2 separate regions of the Homo sapiens genome follow, and region 2 is linked to region 1. The links are contacts of gene promoters, found by promoter capture Hi-C in blood cells and fetal thymus (Javierre and others, 2016). All regions are on one chromosome and are shown on one strand. Each heading gives the region's core, a stretch centred on a gene start or on the middle of the fragment in contact. The rest is flanking DNA. Distances are from core to core; before and after follow the strand shown.

Region 1 (3,253 bases), core at 460-2,959:
CTGCTACAGATGGACTCCTTAGTTCGTTTGCTTAGATGGTTCTTGAGGTGGAATACTGATTTACAAGTGCACCTCTAATGCCTTCTGCTCTCTCTACCCAGTGCTGGGGAAGAAATGAGCTGGTTTGTTCTGCTAGTTCTGTCCTCCCATGAGTCATGAAAGCTTGGGGGTTAAAGAAATTTGGCATGAGACAAACCACCAAAAAACATTATCAGCTTCAGCTTCTTTTTTGGTGAGTGACCTTCGAAGGAGCTGGCGCAATGGGGGTTGGCGCAATGGCTTCAAGGAGGCTGGCACAATGGCTCACGCCTTCAAGGGGGCTGGCGCAATGGCTCACGCCTGTAATCCCAGCACTTTTGGAGGCTGAGGCGGGTAGATCACTGAGGTCAGGAGTTCGAAACCAGCCTGGCCAACATGGTGAAACCCCGTCTCTACTAAAAATACAAAAAAAATTAGCCAGGCGTGGTGGCAGGCACCTGTAATCCCAGCTACTTGGAAGGCTGAAGCAGGAGAATCACTTGAACCCGGAAGGCAGAGGTTCCAGTGAGCAGACATTGTGCCACTGCACTCCAGCCTGTGTGACAGAGTGAGACTCCACCTCAAAACACAACAAAACAAACAAAAAAAACCTACAAGGTGAGGAAAATGTGCACAAATAACTGTAATAAAAGGAAGAGAGTGATAAAAGCTACAAAAAGGTTAACAGATAAGCATTTTCCAAGTAACAAAGCTTTTTCTACTACATGTTACAGGAGCCATTGAGTGCTCTTGCAAAGAAAACCAGCACTACAAAGTAGTAAATTATAAGTGATGCAAACACTACCTCCTGTAGAAACTCACAGGAAGGGAAGCCAGGTAGAGGCATGCTCCCATGCCAGCAGGTGGGGATACAAATCCTCCTTCTGCTACCTTTCCAGAAGAAAGTTAGCAATAGAGATCAAGAGCGTAAAAAAAAAAGAAAAGAAAAAAGAAAAAAAAAATCATTTCGACCCAATAATTCCACTTCTAAGAATGTATCCTTAGGAAAAAAAATTAGACATTTGTTCAAGGATTTCTGTTGAATTTTCCTTATAAGGTTATTATATTATCAAATAGAAACAACTGAAACAGCCAAGTTGGGTTACATTATGGGACATGCTCATGATGGCATCATATTTAAGTGACGTTTTTGAAGCACGGTAGTGACTTTTGGAAAAGGCTCAATACATCATTTTAATGAGACGTGCAAACTCATCATTACGATATACTAGGAGAAATGCTTTGACAGACGAAGTGGGAACAACTGGGAGAGTGAATGATGGAGTGTCAGGAACAGGGGCATATGAGTTGGGTCTTCCAGGTTGTGGAGGTGTTTCCGGGTGGAAGAGAAGGAGGGACCAAGCGGAGAGCCCTAAGTCCTGAAGACAACTGGGAAGGTAACACACCTCTTAAGAAGGGCATGCAGCAGCCATACCTCTCATCCGCCACGGTCAGCAAACCCATTGTGTTTCCTGGAGTGAGTTGGGCCATCAAGATGGGTGGTGCCCTCCTGCTGGGGAAGAGGGGCTCGGTGGGAATCCCTGCCCCAAGGCCTGGCAGCAACGCTCCTACGCTGCCTTGGGCCGCAGGCCTGCTAAGCCCTCCGCTCTCGCTTCCCTGCGCGCGAAATAAGTCCCAGGGCCAATGTGGCCTCCCCACCCAGTGCTTCCGGGGGCGCCAAAAAACGACCTGCCCAGACCCTCAGCGTCGACGCTGCGCACAAGCGCAGTCAACTGCTGGACCCGGCCGGTGTGAAGTTTCACACCCAAAAGGATGAAGGGCACCCACCTGGCTTAAGAGAACGACTCCCAGGTAAAGGGCCAGACCCAGGTGAGGAGTCGGCACAGGGCCAGAGGTGCCCTGCACACTCAGAGCTCTCCCTTTGAGCTCCTTGCCTTGCTCGGTTCTCCTGGGCCGCAGGCGTCTACCCTGCTCTCTGGGGTTCCGCTGCCTTTTCCTTGCCAGGTCTTTCCCACAGCAACGCCTTTTCTCTTCCTTCTCCAGCCTCTGAGTCCTCTTCCTCCTCTCCCCACTGTCCCACCTCTGAGGGACAGAAGTGGGGTGGTTTGAGAGCAGGAGACTGGAGGGAAGAAGCAAGTCCAGGCCTAGCTGCAAGCACTCCCCACCCCCGCCCCCGCCCCCGCCCCCGCCCCCGCCAGGCTCTAGGACACTTGACTTCTGTTAGGCCTCACACGGTTTGGTCTGAAGTGTTTCTCTCTTAATAGCTGTGGATCGGCGAGGCTCAATGGCTCACGCCTGTAATCTCAGGACTTTGGGAGGCCGAGGTGGGTGGATCACCTGAGGTCAGGAGTTCAAGAACAGCCTGACCAACATGGTGAAACTCTGTCTCTACTAAAAACACAGAAAATTAGCCGGGCGTGGTGGCGTGCACCTGTAATCTCAGCTACTCGGGAGGCTGAGGCAGGAAAATCGCTTGCACCCAGGAGGTGGAGGTTGCAGTGAGCCGAGATCGCGCCATTACACTTCAGCCTGGGCAACAAGAGCAAAAAACTCCGTCAAAAAAAAAAAAAAGAAGAAGAAGTTGTGGAGCTGTCTGATTCCTGATCCTGTCCGTTCAGGCTGGGGCCGCCCTGGTCTTTCAAACCCAGCAGTGAGCTTGGACAGACCCAGAGGTGTTTACTCCAGGTAATAGGAGCTCTAGACAAAATCAGGCTCTTTTCCTGGCTTAGACCTCTCCCTGCTTACAACACCTCTAGGATGTGGGATATCTAGAGGTCTGTGTAGCTGGAGGATGCTGGGAAATGTGAGGAGAAGATGTTTCCTCCTTAAAATTGGAATCTTTCTGATCACCTGAATTCTCCTGCTAGCCACAAATCCCACTCACTCTTATCTTATCCTTGTCCTTCTGTCATCGTTTACCTGCCTAATCCCTGAAGGTAGTGAGTTTCCTGTCACTGGAAGTGCACTTCTCGGTACCCTTACTTGTAGAAGTTCTCACAGATGCTGCTTCTCCTCTGGCTCAGATCATGTCTACTGTGAAGGAAGCAGCACACCGGCTGTCCAAAAGTGAGATGAGCCTCTATGCAGTGCTGGATCTTAAGAAGGGCGCCTCACCTGAAGACTTCAAAAAATCCTACAGGTTCAGACCTCAGCCCTTTATTGATCCTTGGAATTTCCCCCTTAAACCTTTTTCTTTCTGTATCTCTTTTGCTATCTGACTCTTTTTTTTTTTTTTTTTTTTTGAGAGGAAGTCTCGTCCTGTCACAGAGCAGAG
Region 2 (3,253 bases), core at 554-3,053, 240 kb before region 1:
ATTCAGGTCTGGGTGGTTTCTGATGCCCGTCTCTTGCAGATAGTGATCTTTGAGCTCAAAGCTCTAGCTCAGGAGCCCCAGCCTCCTGCTTTACAGCCTCTCAGAGAGCTTTCTGGAGTCTTGACACTGTTTCTCCACCCCTTAGGGTGGATGTGCGGCCTGGATGGCCTTGCTTACGGGAAGGGGATCACCTCTTAGCACTCCCCGCCTCTGCCAGCCCCATGCCCCCAGCAGCCTCTCCCTCTGTCGTGCTGTGCAGCTCCTGAGCAGCCTGACTGAGTGCCTGACGGTGGACCCCCTCAGTGCCAGCGTCTGGAGGCAGCTGTACCCTAAGCACCTGTCACAGTCCAGGCAGGTGGGGTGGGAGGCCAGCCTGTCCCTGTGCTAGAAGCAGAAGGGGAGCCTGGGTCACTGTCCCATGGCCTGACACCTTTCAGGCTGAGTGGGAACATTGCTGGAGCAGCCTCTAGGAAGCTGCTGCTCTGTGGGTGGTAGGTGGAGGGTCTTTCAGCCTGAAGGAGCCAGGGCTAATGGAGGACAGGAGGATGGGTGAGGCTGCGCGAGCCACCTGACTAGGGGGTTGTGCTTTCCCCACAGCCTTCTGCTGGAGCACTTGCTCAGCTCCTGGGAGCAGATTCCCAAGAAGGTGAGGAGCTGGGAGGACGTGGCAGGTTGAGCCCTGTCTGGATTCTAGGTTCTGAGTGGGGGCTCCTCAGCCACTGTCCCTTCCCTGAGAAGGGACCCTGTTGGCATGGAAAATGAAGCAGGATGGAAGCTCTGGATTCCCTCACAGGCCAGACCTTTCTTGTCCATAGGTACAGAAGTCTTTGCAAGAAACCATTCAGTCCCTCAAGCTTACCAACCAGGAGCTGCTGAGGAAGGGTAGCAGTAACAACCAGGATGTCGTCACCTGTGACATGGCCTGCAAGGTGCTGGCACCCGGTCCTCTCCAGCCCACACGCTATCTTACATCTCTGTCTCAGCACACCTGGGTTGGGCCTGTATCACATTCCTGCCCCACCTGTCTGGAGCCCCCCGCTGCCTCCAGGATAATGTGAAGGCTTGACGCTCTTTCGGGAAGGCCTGGCTTGAGGTCTGCCCTCAGAGGCAAAGACCAGCCCCTCGCTTCTGACAACTGTCTCCTGCTCCCCTCCCACCAGGGCCTGTTGCAGCAGGTTCAGGGTCCTCGGCTGCCCTGGACGCGGCTCCTCCTGTTGCTGCTGGTCTTCGCTGTAGGCTTCCTGTGCCATGACCTCCGGTCACACAGCTCCTTCCAGGGTAAGCAGCAATGGGCAAGCGAGGAGGATGGTGTGGGCGGGGCACAGAGCTACACGTAGCACCACCACCCCGCCCCCAGCAGCACACATCTTTGTCCTGACGAGTTCTCAATCCTGCAGAGTAAACACTTTACAGACAGATTTTTTTGTCCACAGATATGACACTACCATTTCAGATTGGACTAGGACTTCGCAGTATAGAAGTGCTTGCATATTCATAGTATCATTTTAGTAGGTGTTACCTCCTTTTAACTCCTGAGGAAATGGTCTCAGAAAGATGTAGCAATTAGCTTTAGGTCATAGCTAGTAAGTAGAAGGGCAGACCCTCAACCTGAGGCTTCCTGAAGCCTGAGCCTAGGCTCCAACCGGCAGCTGCATTCCTGCACACCTGGCCCAGCAGGAGAAGGGCAGCTCTGCATGCCTCCCTCCACAGCAGCCTGGAGCTGGCTTTGTGGCCCTGTGAGAACACAAAGCTCTGCCCAGCGCCTCGCTGTGCCTGCTCTGGGCCCTGTAGTGTCTGTCTCCCCAGTCCCTGCCCCTCTCACCTCCCAGCTCACCAGAGGCCCCCTTTACTTAGCCTCCCTTACTGGCCGGTTGCTTCGATCATCTGGCTTCTTACCTGCTAGCCAACAAGCGTGTGCCAAGCTCTACTCCTACAGTCTGCAAGGCTACAGGTGAGCTCCTCCCAGGGAGGGGAGAGGAGAGGCAGAAGAGAGAAGGCCTGGGTGTCAGGGAGGAGGCGACAGTCAGTGGGAAGCGCTTGTGATTCTCCTTTCCCACGGCCTCCCTTTCCCCAGCTGTTTCTTGGGAGCTAAGTGGGCCTGAGGAGACTCAGAGCCCTCTTCCCCCACTTCCATCTTCCACAGCTGGCTGGGGGAGACACTGCCGCTCTGGGGCTCCCACCTGCTCACCGTGGTGCGGCCCAGCTTGCAGCTGGCCTGGGCTCACACCAATGCCACAGTCAGCTTCCTTTCTGCCCACTGTGCCTCTCACCTTGCGTGGTTTGGTGACAGTCTCACCAGTCTCTCTCAGAGGGTAAGTCAGAGACAGGGAGTCAAATAAGGGGCTGGTTTTCCCAGGAGCAGAATTCTGGGAAAGGAGCAGCACTGTGTGGCCTGAGTCTTTAGGGCCAGGATGCAGTTCCCTGGATACTCTGACCCCATCCATTCTCCATGGTCCAGCTACAGATCCAGCTCCCCGATTCCGTGAATCAGCTACTCCGCTATCTGAGAGAGCTGCCCCTGCTTTTCCACCAGAATGTGCTGCTGCCACTGTGGCACCTCTTGCTTGAGGCCCTGGCCTGGGCCCAGGAGCACTGCCATGAGGCATGCAGGTGAGACCTTTGCCCAGGGCTCCGGCAGGATCCCCAGCAGCCCCATTCCCGGGCCCCAGGGACAAGCCATCTCTATCCAGTCTCCCACACTGTCCTGCCCCTCGCTCCCATTCCTGGCCACCCTGGGATGAGGGTTGTGGGTCTAAGCTTTCATCCCCGAAAGTTGACACAGCTACTCACGTGCATACTCAAAAATGTTCCACTTTCCTTCCAGAGGTGAGGTGACCTGGGACTGCATGAAGACACAGCTCAGTGAGGCTGTCCACTGGACCTGGCTTTGCCTACAGGACATTACAGTGGCTTTCTTGGACTGGGCACTTGCCCTGATATCCCAGCAGTAGGCCCTGCCTTCCTGGCCACTGATTTCTGCATGGGTAGACCATCCAAGACTGCAGCGGGTAGAAGGTGGCAGTTCTTCATGGGAGTCTTTTTAACTTGGTGCCTGAGTTCTCTCCTAGGCAAGTGGCCAGTTGCCTCCACCTCAGTTCTTCCATCTTTGGTGGGGACAGGGCCCAGCAGCATCTCAGCCTCCTACCCACAATTCCACTGAACACTTTTCTGGCCCTACTGCACATGGCCCCCAGCCTCCATCCTTGTGCTGGTAGCCTCTCACAACTCCGCCCTTGCCCTCTGCCTTCCACTT

Evidence for each region. The method cuts DNA at HindIII sites, captures the fragments that hold promoters and counts their contacts. A CHiCAGO score of 5 or more calls a contact.
Region 2: a fragment that was not itself captured here is called in contact with the fragment with the promoter of DNAJC5G in region 1 in 1 of 17 cell types (naive B cells); the score reaches 5.5 in naive B cells.

What each region holds. Positions count from the first base shown.
Region 1 is chr2:27,273,724-27,276,976 of GRCh38, forward strand. It overlaps DNAJC5G (DnaJ heat shock protein family (Hsp40) member C5 gamma), which reads left to right and starts at 1,710. Exons shown (of 7, transcript NM_173650.3): 1 at 1,710-1,830; 2 at 2,383-2,664; 3 at 3,003-3,118. The coding sequence starts at 3,006. It also overlaps a transcript of SLC30A3 not described here. The HindIII fragment of the contact is 3,678 bases long and covers 729-3,253 here.
Region 2 is chr2:27,037,887-27,041,139 of GRCh38, forward strand. TMEM214 (transmembrane protein 214) reads left to right here. Exons shown (of 17, transcript NM_017727.5): 10 at 260-351; 11 at 598-646; 12 at 816-929; 13 at 1,161-1,278; 14 at 1,855-1,951; 15 at 2,144-2,312; 16 at 2,459-2,610; 17 at 2,825-3,253. The coding sequence ends at 2,951. Among named protein-coding and RNA genes, the nearest start is that of TMEM214, 6.5 kb to the left of the region's middle. RefSeq lists an enhancer at 924-2,123. The HindIII fragment of the contact is 1,903 bases long and covers 853-2,755 here.